2 separate regions of the Homo sapiens genome follow, and region 2 is linked to region 1. Evidence: promoter capture Hi-C in 16 types of primary human blood cells and fetal thymus (Javierre and others, 2016). All regions are on one chromosome and are shown on one strand. Each heading gives the region's core, a stretch centred on a gene start or on the middle of the fragment in contact. The rest is flanking DNA. Distances are from core to core; before and after follow the strand shown. Region 1 holds the start of RBM15B (RNA binding motif protein 15B). Region 2 overlaps LOC105377087 (a long non-coding RNA gene).

Region 1 (7,791 bases), core at 281-2,780:
CAGTGCACGTCAGCACTGACATCTCTATAAAGATGCTGTTGGCCTGGCCACCTACTTGCTCTTTTGTCCATTCCAAGCCTCTGATGTCTGTTCCAGTTTTTGCAAGTCTGGCAGGAGTCAGCTTATACAAAGAGGGAGTGGGAAGCTGCCTTTTGCCTTTGTTTACCCTAGATTAGTCTAACAGTTGAGGTCCAGGGTTTTGCTGGAGTCTGCTTCTTAAGCCACTCTCTGTGGCACTGGTGCTTAGGAAACCCAGTTGTTAGTGTGAGCTGTGGCTCAATGAAGACACCTGTAGAAACCACCTGAAAGGACGGACTAAGAACCAGTGCTTTCCAAGTAATTGGTCTTGCCTCAGATCACTTCACTTGTGTCTCCTAAGCTCAGTTTGCCTGTAGGAGGCCTTGCTGCTGTGGAACCCATTGCTTTCTTCCAAGACCTTTCCCCCTGCACCTGCCTGAGCTACTCCAGGAGCTGCTTTCTCTTTGTGCGAAGAGGGCATGACTTGGTCTGCTCTTCCCCATCGCAAGGATTCTGTGCCAGAAATTGGGTCAGGTTCTACCATGGCTCCAGCAACTGTCCTTGGAGAATGAAAGCTTCCTCAATGGGCTTGAGCACCTGGGCACCCTTTCCCTCACCTCACCTGGGGAGAAGAGGTCGTCCTGAAGGTGATGAACAGGAGGGTACTGGCCAGCGAGGGGTCAGCGTGGCAAGGTGTGATAACTGCTGGCACTATCTGTGCATATGGCCTCTTCATCCTTGGCTCTTACGGCCCTACCTTTCCAGCCTGCTATCTGCCCACAGAAGAGGGTGGGACCCAAGAGTGGCGTTAAAGAGTCTATTCCAACTCCATCAACTGCAACTGCAGGCTTGTCTCTGCTTTCGGTTATTACCTGCGTGACAGCAATTGTCCTCACGGCCTTTTCGGGGACTGCTGCAGGTGAACCTGCACGTGGAGAATGCGCAGAATGTGGGCCTTGGGTCCTGGGCAGGGTCTAAGGATAGGCATGCATTAGTCCTTGGCGCCGTCAACGCCGGATCCCAGGCAGGAGATGCCAACGAGGGTGATGTGGGGTTTGCTCAAGCCTAGTCCTAGGACTGAGGGGATACTACATAAAGAGACCACTGACTGGGTCAATGCCCCAGATCCCAACGGCCATGGAAGCTGCCACTCCTGCTCCAATCAGCGCGGGCTCCAGTGCCTGCAAGAGGAGATAGCTGGACCCAGAGCGGCAAAGCACGGCTGGGAGCACAAAGCGTTAGGTCGTCTCGCCGGCCTCTCAGGGTTCACTACACTCCGCGTAGCCTCAAGCATCGGCCATGCGGGCCGCGCGGTGGCGCCAGAGCGCGCGGCCGGTCCCACTCACCCAGCACTCACAGGGTCACCTGGCACTGGGCGACGCAGCGCGATGAGGCAGGCCCGGCGCGGGTCTTGCTCCGCCCGCCGCAGAGTCACGTGGCAGGACGGCGCACCTTGATAACGCAATGCCCGGCCCCTCGGCGCCGCTCCCGCCCCGCCCCGCCGCCACCGCCGCGCCGAGTCCTTTTGTCCAAGATGGCGGCGCCGGGGGCGCTGCCTCCTCGGCCGCCGCCTCCGCCGCCGCCGCTGTGAGAAACCTACGGGCCGCCCGCCCGCCGCGCCAGCGCCATGAAGCGGCAGAGCGAGCGAGACTCTAGCCCGAGCGGGCGCGGCTCGTCATCGTCCGCCAAGCGTCCGCGGGAGCGCGAACGGGAGGCGGAGGCGGGCGGGCGGCGGGCGGCGCACAAGGCCTCTGGCGGCGCCAAGCACCCGGTTCCAGCGCGGGCCCGCGACAAACCCCGCGGCAGCGGAAGCGGCGGGGGCGGGCATCGCGACGGCCGCGGCACCGGGGACGCGAATCACCGCGCGAGTAGCGGGCGCTCCTCGGGCTCCGGCGCTGGCGGCGGGGGACGCGGCGGCAAGGCCTCGGGGGACCCGGGCGCCTCCGGCATGTCGCCCCGCGCGTCTCCTCTGCCGCCGCCTCCGCCACCGCCTGGGGCCGAGCCCGCGTGTCCCGGCTCATCCGCGGCCGCGCCTGAGTACAAGACGTTGCTCATCAGCAGCTTGAGCCCCGCGCTGCCCGCCGAGCACCTCGAGGACCGGCTCTTCCACCAGTTCAAGCGCTTCGGCGAGATCAGCCTCCGCCTGTCGCACACGCCTGAGCTGGGCCGTGTGGCCTACGTGAATTTCCGGCACCCACAGGACGCACGCGAGGCCCGCCAGCACGCCCTGGCCCGGCAGCTGCTGCTCTACGACCGCCCGCTCAAGGTAGAGCCCGTGTACCTGCGTGGCGGCGGCGGGAGCAGTCGGCGAAGTAGCAGCAGCAGCGCCGCCGCTTCCACGCCTCCCCCAGGGCCGCCCGCGCCCGCCGACCCGCTCGGCTACCTCCCGCTACACGGAGGCTACCAGTACAAGCAGCGCTCGCTGTCCCCCGTCGCTGCCCCGCCCCTGCGGGAGCCCCGTGCCCGTCACGCCGCCGCAGCCTTCGCCCTGGATGCCGCTGCTGCCGCCGCCGTGGGACTGTCCCGGGAGCGGGCCCTGGACTACTACGGGCTGTACGACGACCGTGGGCGCCCCTATGGCTACCCAGCTGTGTGTGAGGAGGACCTGATGCCCGAGGATGACCAGCGGGCCACGCGCAACCTCTTCATTGGTAACCTGGACCACAGCGTATCTGAGGTGGAGCTGCGAAGGGCCTTCGAGAAATATGGCATCATCGAGGAGGTGGTCATCAAGAGGCCTGCCCGTGGCCAGGGCGGTGCCTATGCCTTCCTCAAGTTCCAGAACCTGGACATGGCCCATAGGGCTAAGGTGGCCATGTCGGGCCGAGTGATTGGTCGCAACCCCATTAAGATAGGCTATGGCAAGGCCAACCCCACCACTCGTCTCTGGGTGGGTGGCCTGGGACCTAACACGTCACTGGCGGCTCTGGCCCGAGAGTTTGACCGCTTTGGGAGCATTCGGACCATTGATCACGTCAAAGGAGATAGCTTTGCCTATATTCAGTACGAGAGCTTGGACGCAGCCCAGGCCGCCTGTGCTAAAATGAGGGGTTTTCCCTTGGGTGGACCAGACCGCAGGCTCCGCGTGGATTTTGCCAAAGCAGAGGAGACTCGGTACCCCCAGCAGTACCAGCCCTCGCCACTCCCTGTGCATTATGAGCTGCTCACAGATGGATACACCCGGCACCGCAACCTGGACGCCGACCTGGTGCGGGACAGGACGCCCCCACACCTTCTGTACTCAGACCGAGACCGGACTTTTTTGGAAGGGGACTGGACCAGCCCCAGTAAAAGCTCTGACCGCCGAAACAGCCTTGAGGGCTACAGTCGCTCAGTGCGCAGCCGGAGTGGTGAGCGTTGGGGGGCAGATGGAGACCGTGGTTTGCCCAAGCCCTGGGAAGAGAGGCGGAAACGGAGAAGCCTTTCCAGTGACCGTGGGAGGACAACCCATTCACCATATGAGGAACGGAGTAGGACCAAGGGCAGTGGGCAGCAGTCAGAGCGGGGCTCCGACCGCACCCCTGAGCGCAGCCGCAAGGAGAACCACTCCAGTGAAGGGACCAAGGAGTCCAGCAGCAACTCCCTCAGCAACAGCAGACATGGGGCTGAGGAACGGGGCCACCACCACCACCACCACGAGGCTGCAGACTCTTCCCACGGGAAGAAGGCAAGAGACAGCGAGCGCAATCACCGGACCACAGAGGCCGAGCCCAAGCCTCTGGAAGAGCCAAAACACGAGACCAAAAAGCTGAAGAATCTTTCAGAGTACGCTCAGACACTACAGCTGGGTTGGAATGGGCTTCTGGTGTTGAAAAACAGCTGCTTCCCCACGTCTATGCATATCCTAGAGGGGGACCAGGGGGTGATCAGCAGTCTCCTCAAAGACCACACTTCTGGGAGCAAGCTGACCCAGCTGAAGATCGCCCAGCGCCTTCGACTGGACCAGCCCAAGCTTGACGAGGTCACACGACGCATCAAGCAGGGGAGCCCCAACGGCTATGCGGTCCTCTTAGCCACCCAGGCAACCCCCAGTGGGCTTGGCACTGAGGGGATGCCCACAGTAGAGCCCGGTCTGCAGAGGCGGCTTCTCAGGAACCTGGTCTCCTACTTGAAACAGAAGCAGGCCGCAGGGGTGATCAGCTTGCCAGTGGGGGGGTCCAAGGGCAGAGACGGCACAGGCATGCTCTACGCCTTCCCACCCTGCGACTTTTCCCAGCAGTACCTCCAGTCAGCACTAAGGACATTGGGCAAGCTAGAAGAAGAACACATGGTGATAGTCATCGTCAGAGACACTGCCTAGCCCAAGCCTGTCTTTCCCAGCGTCATGTTTGTGTCACAAAAGCAGTTATTTTAAAATCTGATCCCCTCTCTACCCTACCACTTTGGTTTGAATTATCTCCTGGGTTATTTTGGTTCATTTGGGTGGGGATCAAAGTCCTGTCCACCACCAAAACTAAGTTCTTAGATTTTGGGGGATTTTTTTTTTTAAACGATGAGAAGGGAATCCGGTTATGTTGATTTCTAGTGTACAAGATACTGTCTGCTGTGGTTCTGTATTTTTTTATTTTTTGACCAACTGTATGGAAAGTTGTCAGTAAAACCTTTGACAGAGGATGGATTTTTAAACCTGTTCAGAGTCCTGGTTTAATCAATCAAGCTAAAAGAATCGAAGACATCCCTAGTGCATGTACACGAATGCCCTACGTCATCCTTCCAGCACCACTGCTGCATGGGTCACTCTCGGCCTCTCAATTCTTCAGGCTCAGTCTGGACTCTACTTACACTCATTTTTATCTTGGCTGACAGCAGGCAAGCTTCAGTTTGGGCTGTGGACGCTGCCACACAAGCCTGAGTAGAGCCCATGCAAAGGAAGGGATGGGGTGAGCGCAAGGCCTGTGGTCAGCAGCTACTGATGGTTTTTTCTGCCTTAAACCGTGTGTGTGTCCATCATCATCAGTTTGAGCTGTGGCTGTTTGTTTGGGACAGAGTGCCCACTCAGCATGTTTGGCAGCAGGTAGCCTTCAGCAGCTGTGTAGTCTTGTACAAGGAGAAGCTGTGCACTGTTGATGCCAGGGGGTCTCGGGGCCCCTGATCTGTCCAGGCTCCTGGTTCGGCCTACTTTCTAGCCTCACTCAGCCCAGGGATAGCCAGTGTTGGGAGACAGAGTTGCCTCAGGTTCCCAGGGGCCCGGGAGTCCAAATACTGGAATGGAGGGTTGGAGGCAGCCTTCCTTGGATTTACTCATGAACTTTGCCTAGTTGTTTGTGATTTTTGGCTTTCTCTGGTCGTTCAGGGGTGATGGGTAATAGAGCAGGCCCGTGTCCAGTCATACCTAGAGATTTGTGGGGGGATACTGAACCTCTAGACTGAAGTACTTACCGGGGAGCACAGTGGACTAGGGGATGCCCTTGATAATGACGGTTTCCTAGGTGCAAGATCAGAGCATGTGCCTACACCTTGTGCCCTGATGCCGAGGTGGAGACCATTGGGAAATAATTAATAGATATTTTTCTGGGGGGAAATCACAAGTCACTGAGGTGTTTGTTTGTTTGTTAGGCAGTGCTAGAGCTTGAAGCCACTCAAGCCAGTTGGGGAGGAAAGGGATGCGGAGGTACCCTCTAGCTGGGAAGAAGGGTGAGATTCCGTCTTCTTCCCTGTCTCAAGTAAGTAAGGAAGGTACTGCGGACAGTGTGGGCCAGGGAGGAAAACCAGAGCACACAGTTTTGTCACCATGGAACACCCCAAATGCCATTCTTCAGCGTGTCTGGTACCTTGGATGTTCAAACAGGGAACACTGTCAGGGCTGAGGAGAACAGAAGCTCTGGTAAGCGAATGAGCCCCTAGATGATAACCAGGAACTCCAGGTTCTGCTGGCCGTGGCATCCTCTCTCCAGGTCTGCTCCCTTACCGGAGCTAGGATAAGGTAGCATGAGTGACACCTGAGATTAGAGGCTGGGGCTCACTGCAGGCTGTGGAGAGGTCATGCTGGTCCACAGGAACACTTGGCAGTGCTCTCGTAGACCCCTCGGTGATGTGGAATGGACAGGTGCCTCGCAAGAGAGCAAGCACGTTCATAACAAAACAGCAACACAAAGACATGTTAAGCATGTTTATTTATTTGCCTGTTTTTGTTTTTTTACTTGAGCTGTGGTCACAGCTGCCAGGTACCTAAGCAAGTCAGTTGGGTACAGCAGGACACGCCACCATTCCAGGGTAGCTGGTACCGCCAGAAACAGGAGTGGGTCTTGTCCTGTTGCAGGCACACTGCAGTGGTTTTCCTGCAGCTCTCCAACAAACGCCTGAGTCACAGGCCAGAGCTGCCTTGGTATGTTGTTAAGTCCAAAACTTCTTCTCTGGGCTACCTATCTTCCTTCATGAAGCAGGTGCTCAGGACCCGGAAGAATCATCTACCTCCCAGCTTTGTGAGACAGAACCAAGTAAAAGGAAACATGCTAGAAAACGTGCCTAGAGAAGACACTTCAACCTTTGCCTTATCCAACCCCTCTTCAGAGAAAGGTGTCCCATGGCCCCAAAAAGAACTGCCAAGTTTTGGTGAGGAGTAACACCCTGGCATGACATTCCTTCTCTTTCCTGGCCCTCAACCACTTCCTTCCTTTGGCTCTTAAGACCTAGCAGGTTCTGTGAACTCTCAGGCCTTGGCCAGCACTAGTTAGGGGAGGTCAGGTGGTCAATGTCCTGGTGATTTTATGAGACTGCCCCACTGAGAAAACTTACTTACTTCAGGCATCCAGTGCCCCCACCCAGGGTTCAGGCCCTGTCTAAGGTGTTGCTTAAAGACAAAAAGGCAACATGTGCCTCACTGGTGGTGTGCCACTGTTCTCATGCTGCCTCCTAAGTGACTCCGATTTTCAGCCCTGGTAGAATAAGGAAGACAGCTGATGCCTCCTTAGCCCCTTAGCACATGTTCCTAAGGTGTGTTGTCAAGCCAACCTGAATTCTGCCTCCCTGTTATAGTCCCTGTCTCCCCCACAGAGACCTGTGGGTGCTCCCAGCAGAGTTGAGACTGGCTCCGTTGAGTTAATGACTAGAATATAGTGCTTTCACTACTTGATTGTTAACCTGTTTTCTTCTGATGCCATCAGTACCAGCAGTCAGACTATTCCACTGGTTAAGTGTTTACTACCATTAAAGCGAGGCATGAAGCAAAGAGCTGAGTGAGTCCTCTGCTCTCCAGAGGACCAAGAAATACCTGTGTGACACAGACCCACTTCAGTGTGTACAGCAAATTCTATAGTGCTTCTGAGCCCAGCAGGGCTTTACCTGCCCCTGGAGAGTTTTAGCCGTCTTGTGTTTCTTGTTTACTTCACAACCAAATTTGTCCCCTCTTCTCTCTGTTAAGGGAGAGAAGTCACTTTAGCTGGATAATACCTATGTAACAAACTGAGCAGCTGTTATTTGGGCAAAATCAAAGGAAGAAAGAGACTATGGTCTTCTATTTATTGTGGGAAGGAAAACAGGGTGGGGCGGGTGAGTGAAAAGGTGGAAATCCCTGGTACCTTGCCTGGTGGTTACACAGTTTAACCATAGGCCAATTTTAGGGGCCTCTGAAGTATCTTTCTACAAACGCAGACAAGCTCCACTACCCCTAACCTGCCAGGATGCTCAAGTCCACTGTCACAATCCCTTTCAGAAAACATTAGTGGCCGCTGCCCCAGCTACAGAGACGGCCGAAATGCTTTCACTCCTTAGCTTTGCCAACTCCATCCTCCAAAACTTCCCAGAATACCTCCCTTTCCAGTTCTACCAAATCTG
Region 2 (7,774 bases), core at 4,016-6,515, 410 kb after region 1:
TCCTTCCTTCCTTCTTTCCTTCCTTCTGCTGTTGCACAAAGACTCAAGAACAGCGTTGAAAAGCATTGTGGGGAGTGGCACCACGTTTCCCTCTGACTTTAATGGGGTTGTTTCTTATGCTTTCCCACCAGTGAGGACATTTGCAGGAGTTTCATTTTATCTAGCCTTAGCAAATTAAGTACATTTCCTTCCATTCTTGTGTGCTAATTGTTTTTTGCAATCAAGATGTTTATTAAATGCTTTTCTTTTTAATAACAGCATGTAACCACCCGGTGGGTTCTCTTTGCCTGCTGTCTAGACAGAGCCAATATCAAGACAGGGGAATTGCAATAGAGAAAGAGTTTAATTCACACAGAGCTGGCTGTATGGGAGACCTGAGTTTTATTATTACTCAAATCAGTCTCCCTGAAAGCTTGGGGATAGGGGGTTTTAAGCATAACTTGGCAGGTAGGGGGTCAGAAAGTGGGAAGCGCTGATTGGTCAGGTTGGAGATGAAATCATAGGGAGTCAAAGCTGTTCTCTTGTGCTGAGTCAGTTCCTGGGTGGGGAGGCCACAAGACCAAATGAACCAGTTTACTGGTTTGGGTGGTGTCTACTGATCCATCAAGTACAGGGTCTGAAAATATCTCAAGTACTGATCTTAGGTTTTACAACAGTAATGTTATCCCCAGGGACAATTTGGGGAGGTCCATAATCTTGCAGCTTCTAACTGCATGACTCCTAAACCATAATTTCTAATCTTGTGGCTAATTTGTTAGTTCTGCAAAGGCAGTCTAACCCCCAGGCAGGAAGGAGGTTTGTTTTGGAAAGGGCTGTTACCATCTTTGTTTCAAAGTTGGGCTACAAACTAAATTCCTCCCAAAGTTAGTTCAGCCTATGCCCAGGAATGAACAAGAACAGCTTGGAGGTTCGAAGCAAGATGGAGTTAGTTGGGTCAGATCTCTTTCACTGTCAGAATTCTCTCAGTTATAATTTTTGCAAAGGCAGCTTCAAGCAGGAAGGATTTCACTGTTTTCCTCTTTGATCTGTTAATATGGTAAATTACATCGATATATTTTTCCCACGGAAACCTCCTCACAGTGGTGGGCTTTAGCCAGATTTTAGGCTACCTGACACCTCCAGGGAAGTTTAAATTTTCCCTCTGAAGTTTTGATAATTGAATCTGCTGAAATAGACTGACGATAGACAGACAAGAGAAAAGGCATACAAATGTATTAGCATGCAAGCACATGGGAATCATACAAGCATGAAACTCAAAGAAAAGTCAGATAATTGAAGCTTAAATACCTTCTTCACATGGGAGAGGAAAGTGGAAGATGTAGACAATTCTAGAGGAAGAGTAAATGATTTTTAAGAAGGATGAATGAGACTGAAGCACAAACAATAGCTGAAGGCAAAGTTCTTCTAGGCTCTAGTAGGGGTGGTGATAAGTTGTAGGAAGGTGAAGGGTGGAACTGCATTGCAAACAAAGGTTGTTTTTGTTTGTTTGTTTGTTTGTTTGTTTGTTTTTGAGACAGAGTCTCGCTCTGTTGCCCAGGCTGAAGTGCAGTGGCGCTATCTCAGCTCACTGCAACCTCTGCCTCCCAGGTTCAAGCGATTCTCCTGCCTCAGCTTCCTGAGTAGCTGGGATTACAGGCACGTGCCACCATGCCTAGCTAATTTTTGTATTTTTAGTAGAGATGGGGTTTCACCACGTTGGTCAGGCTGATCTTGAACTCCTGACCTCGTGATCCACCTGCCTTGGCCTCCCAAAGTGCTGGGATTACAGGCGTGAGCCACCACGCCCAGCCAAAGGTTGTCTTATTATGCAGATAAAGCCTCTTGGTGACAGCCCTCAGAACAGATGAAAAGTCTGCTCATGCAGATGATCTTTAATTTCTTCTTCAGTGAGTAACTATCCCTTTTTAATTTGATTTCAAACAGTGGATTGAAGGCAATTGTGTTTCTTTAAAAGAACTTCCCTCAGTCAGATAAAGGAACTCAGAGAGAGCCCCTTCCCGCACTTGGGGGGAGAAACAACGGAAGATCAAAGACCTTGATTCTGAGGCAGCTTGGGAGGCCTTTCATTCAAGGTGCTTAGTACGGCAAAGAGCTATACTTTGGGGGTGTTGTTTTCTGAGCCCAAACACACCTGATTCCCTTCCCCATGTCTGGGGACTCTCCTTCTTATCTGTCTGGGTGGGAAACAGCCTGCCTCTAATTATAGAGCTGAAAATACCAGTTTCTCACTTTCTCAGCTCCCCTGGCTGCTGGGACAGACATGTGACCAGGATTGGCCAATCAAATTTGTGTGCTGAGAATTTTCAGTCTGCAGCTTGGGATCCAGAGAACCAGGATAGCAACCCCTGTGTTGGTGCTGGAATCCTCAGCAGGCTGGTTCTGTGGTATGATGTTTTCTGTGGTTCTGGGTGCATAACTTCTCTTTGATCTGCCTGTTTTCTGAGCCTGGTCCCTGGGCTTTCTGATAATTTGGTGAGCTACTAAATATTGTTTCAATACACTTCTATTTTGCTTAAGTAAATATGGATCTGTTTATGTTTGTAGTTAAGATGAATGACTAACATATTTGCATTTGTGGAATAAATCCTACTCATTCAAGCATTATTTGAAATCACCATTGGATTCAGTTTGTTAATATTTATACCTGTGTTCATAAATCAGATTGGCTGATAGTTTTCTCTTCTTGCACTGTTCTCATCTTATTTTAGTATTAAAAGGGTGCCAACTTTTGGGGATTTTTTGGTTAGAAAAATTCCTACAGTAGAATTGCTGGATCAAGGGGTCTGTACATTTTCAGTTTTGATGGCTATTGTCAAATTGCTATCCAAAGAAATTTTGCCAGTTTACATTTTGACCAACAACATATAATACTGCCTGTTTCTCTCTATCCTTGCCAACACAAAGGACCTGTTATCAATCTGTTTTTTTTTTATGGGTAAGTTGAGCATCCTTGCATATGTTCAGAGTCTTTCTTTCCCCAGCTGTTTTGTTTTCTATGAACTGTCTGTTGATGTCAAAGAACATCAACAGAGAGTTGGTGTTTAGTTTTTCCTCTTATGTTTTTTGTTGGGGAGGGAGGAGGCATGGGAGAGTGAGGATTTAACTTTTTGTCCTACAGTGACCTGTTGGTCTGAAGTTTAAACTCGGTTCCTGGATGTTGGTTGTAATGGCTGTTGAAACTGGAAAAGACCCTCACAAAGACCTGCAATGCAGAGGGAAGATGGCGTGATTGGCTCTGTCTTCCAACTCAAGACATTCACTTCCAGTTGCATCCACCAATTATGCAAAGGTTTTTATTGAAGTCTGGTGAAAAAAATTTCATATTCCCTAATGATAATCAGTTGTTCTATAAACCAGTCAGAAGTTGTTGCATTTTTATATTTTTAACAACTGGGTCCAAAACCAATACAATGATTTTGTAAGTAATAAGTAGGTGAGGAAATTCTATTTCCAAAGTTTTAGGTGTTCGACTGAGAGAGTTGTTATGAGTGAGTCACATTCCTTTTGGCAACAGAATCACATAAAGAAGGAAACATTTCAAACATCTGTTTTCTAAAAGCATTTCCACAGTATCTTAATTTGACTGATGAGGAGCTCCCTCTAGGGGAGAGAAAAATATCAGCACCAGGGTTTCTTGTTTGTGCATTTCAGCCTAGGGGTTTTTGTGGAAATCTTTTTAATCCCCTTGCCTGTGCTGGTAAGGCTTAGCATTGTTAGAACTAGACAATGCGATCCATACATGCTTTGTCAGTGCAGCACAGTCACAAATGATCATCTCTCCCAGTTCATGGAAAGCACATATATTGGCCTGTCTCTCTTACCAGAATGTGACCTTTATGTGGAGAGGGCTTTGCCTGTTTTATTCTTTTATTTAATAAATACCAGTGACAGTACCTGACACATAGCATGGTTCAATAATTTTTGAATCAATGAACAAATCTTTGAACAAAAGTTTTGAGCTTAGTGTAGCCTGAAATCCATGACTAGGCTCTGTGGCCAAGGGCAGGCATTTGTCTGTGGCCTAAGGCTGAGTAGTCTGTGCTGTGGGTGTGGGTGAGGTTTATTTAACTGGCTTAGGCCAAATGTATTCACTCAATGCTTGTTTATTGAGCACCGACTATGTGCCAGACACTGTTATAGGGGCTGGGCTCCCAACAGTGAAAAGGGCAGGCAAGATTCCTGAACTTAAGTAGCAGTGATATAGAGAATGTTGAGATGGTAATACTTGTTATAGAGAAAAATCAAACAGGGAAGGGAGATAGAGTATTCTGGCATGGAGAGGAGGTCTTGATTTTATCTGTGGTGAGAGAAGACTTCACTGAGAGGTGAAGGAGGGAGGGAGGAGGTTGAGCAGCCACCTGGGAGACAGTCATCAAGGCACTGAAGCAGGAACGTGCCCAGCATGTTTGAAGAACACGGAGGAGGCCGGTACGGCAGAGCAGAGTAAGGGAGGGGGAGAGGGATAGGGGCTGGAGTCAGAAAGATGTGGCCTACAGATGTGAAATTCCTAGAGAGAACGGTTGAAGATTTTCCAGCAGTGAGGGAGGACCCTGTGAGTCAAGGGCAAAAGCAGGCCTGGAACTTTCCTGCATCCTTTCCTGCTTCTAAAGGTGATTTTCAGGTTTTCTCTGAGACCATTTTCTTCGAAAGAGTCAGATCATCAATATGAGGTAACAGTGCCTACGGTGGTTCTGCTGCAGCCCACCTGTCAGGAGGTGGGAGATGTTCTAGGATAGTATGGGGTACAGAGGGGAGAACCTGCTGAACTGGATTCTGGCTGAACTAAGCTAAACAAGAGACAGCACTTTAGACCCTGAACGTCAGAGGTGGAGGAAGGGACCATCTATCTCTCTCAGCTCCTGTCTGTAGGTCATCGGGCCCCACTTAATTGCGGCCACCACTCTCATTGAAGAATCTTAATCTAAAAACTCTGGAAACCTCCCAAGAGCCAGAAAGAAACAGCCTCCACTGGAGATGACAAAACAAGATTAACCTTTTTGGACATTGATATGATTCCCTTTAGCCTCATTTTGTTATTGTTAGATTCTTTTTTTTTTTTTTAACAGTCTACAAATTGTTCTAAACTTTGTAGTGTAAGTGGTGATGGGCAATGGCGCTGTCCTGGGCTTCCTGCTAGCCAGTTGAGGTGGGGGTGTGTGCCAACACCTCTTGCTGCATCTGGTTTCATGACATATTTAGCTAGCCTGGCTCCAGATGGAAAGCCTGGCTGCAGTCAGTACTCTAAGTCAGCCTGATCACAGTATTAAGAGTCATTGTTATGGTCACACACCTCATTGTCTATGACAAACAAAACGCACTTATTCAAGCCCTAATCTGTATAATGAATTAGGGTATCTGATGGGGTGACCCACACTCCTGAGAATTCTTAGTAGGACACATGAATGTCAAGGGATGGAGTTGCAGGGGAATGACTTTGCCATGGCAACCTTGCATATATCTACACCCCCTGCAAAGGCGAAGGCTTGAACCACAGCTAATCTGAGTCTTGGCAGAACACTTCTTGATCCCCCTTGGAACAGAAGAGGATGGGAGGCTTGTAAGGCATGCTCTGAGGCCCTTATCTCCCTTGGGAGGCTGTCATGAGACAGCTTTCTCTCTCCTCTCCAGTCCTGATGAGGTGTGGGGCTTTCTGCCTCGTGCCCCTCAGAATAGAGCTACAGAATATAAAACCACATAGCTGCAGTCTAGACCCCCTTGGCTCAACAGCAACAGGGTATCCCACGACTTGCCTTGTAGTCATCGAATCCCTTTTGTGTTGTTCCTTTTGTTGTGTGAGACAAGAACCACAGGGAGCTGGCACTTTTGACTAATCTTCCTTTTTCTATCTATGTGAGTAATTGAAACAATCAGTCTGAAGTGGCTCGATTGGATCGGTTAGACCTTGGCCTTCGTTTTCTCTTGTGTGCCTTGTGTGTGCTTGACAGAAGGCCACGTACTGGGGGTCAGTTATCTGTCACGGTTACCGTGAAGCCTCTGAACTGGGAGAGCTGTAAGTTGTAATGCTGATGGTGTGCGTGTGTGACTGGCATGATAAAAAAGACCAGTGGAAAAATGAGGCAGTGGCTCCCTGTGGCAAGAGGAACTGCACACACCTGGACCTCGTTCCTGGCAGATGTTTACACACCTCCTTGCCCCTTGTGGGTGGGGTTAGGGAGGAATCAGAATCTGCATTCTAAGTAGTTGCTGGGACTCCTGAGGAGAGTGAAGCTCATTTCCTGACCTGTATCTTTTACAGGGCTAAGGAAACATAGTGCTAGATTAAAGTCTGTCGTGTCTTGAATTTGAAGTCTAGCCTACCCTCCCAGTGGTGGGACAGACCTGAATCTTCAGACTAAGGATGAAAATAAGTCCAAATAGATCAGTAATCACAATAAGTTCAATGAGTTAAACTTGATAATTAAAAAGCAGTTTGATAGATTACATTTAATAGATCTATATAATGTTCATAAGGGATATATCTAAAACAAAGTAACACAGAAAGTTTGAAAACAAAAGGATAGAAAAAAGATATATCCGGCAAATTTCCAACCAAAGAAAACTACCACAACAAAATATAATTTAAATCTTAAAAGGAATCAAGGAATCAGCGAACTATGGCCTGCAGGCCAGCTGAACCCACCACCTGTTTTTAGAAATAACATCTTATTGGAACACAATCACTCCCCTTTGTTTACATATAGTCTGTGGTTGTTTTTGAGCTACAATGGCAGGGTTGAGTAGTTGTGACAGATACTGAATGGTTGTCAAAGCCTAAACTTTTTACCACCTGGTTCTTTATAGAAAAACTTTACCAATTCTAGTTGTAAACCAATGAAAGGAACACTACTCTAAGATGCTATAATACTTGGGAATTTTTATGTACGCAACATAACTTCAAAATATGAAAATAAAAAGGCTGATAGAATTACAAAGTAAAGGGCCAGGCACAGTGGCTCATGCCTGTAATGCCAGCACTTAGGGAGGCTGAGGTGGGCGGATCACGAGGTCAGGAGATCAAGACCATCTTGGCTAACACGGTGAAACCCCGTCTCTACTAAAAATACAAAAAAAATTAGCCGGGCATGGTGGCGGGTGCCTGTAGTCCCAGCTACTCGGGAAGCTGAGGCAGGAGAATGGCGTGAACCTAGGAGGTGGAGCTTGCAGTGAGCTGAGATCGCACCACTGCACTCCAGCCTGAGCAACAGAGTGAGACTCCATCTCAAAAAAAAAAAAAAAAAAAAATTACAAAGTTACAAAGTAGATAATTCTACATTTATACCTATTTCAGACACTCATGGATCAAGGAGACAGAAAAATGGTAATAGGATATTTGAAAAATCTTGTCCACATACACACACACACGTATGAATTGTAAATGGAGACAATTGGGCAGAGAGTGGCAGAGCTGAGGATCATATGCATAGATGCATGAGGGGTCATAGTGGTCATGACCAGCCAAAATTATGAAGCCATCAATGTTACAAGGCAGAGAAAACAAAGACAATGGAGATCATGAAAAAATGGTAGTAACAAGAACAATTAGAGCATAAAAAAGTTAGCCAAACTGGAGAGACCAGCCCAGAGTGAATGCCACTAAAGTCCTGAGGAGTCCCAGAGCTACCTTGCATTCCATTCAAGTCTTTCAGATGCTCCATTTTATGACTTGTTTGTTTGTTTGAGACAGAGTATTGCTCTGTTGCCCAGGCTGAAGTGCAGTGGTGCAATCTCTCAATCTCAGCTCACTGCAGCCTCTGCCTCCCGGTTCAAGCAATTC

What was found. Contacts are between HindIII fragments. The CHiCAGO score rates a contact against its expected background, and 5 or more counts as called.
Region 2: a contact is called between a fragment that was not itself captured here and the fragment with the promoter of RBM15B in region 1, in 6 of 17 cell types (naive B cells, total CD4 T cells, naive CD4 T cells and 3 more). The highest score is 8.0, in naive B cells.

What each region holds. Positions count from the first base shown.
Region 1 is chr3:51,389,755-51,397,545 of GRCh38, forward strand. RBM15B (RNA binding motif protein 15B) reads left to right here and starts at 1,531. Exons shown (of 1, transcript NM_013286.5): 1 at 1,531-7,791. The coding sequence starts at 1,646. The coding sequence ends at 4,318. It also overlaps a transcript of DCAF1 not described here. RefSeq lists enhancers at 1,005-1,054, 3,040-3,545, 3,546-4,053 and silencers at 1,375-1,854, 1,895-1,974, 2,085-2,144. The HindIII fragment of the contact is 3,377 bases long and covers 592-3,968 here.
Region 2 is chr3:51,796,493-51,804,266 of GRCh38, forward strand. The region is part of intron 2 of LOC105377087 (a long non-coding RNA gene); the gene reads left to right. Among named protein-coding and RNA genes, the nearest start is that of IQCF6, 21 kb to the left of the region's middle. RefSeq lists an enhancer at 5,368-6,119. The HindIII fragment of the contact is 7,978 bases long and covers 1,277-7,774 here.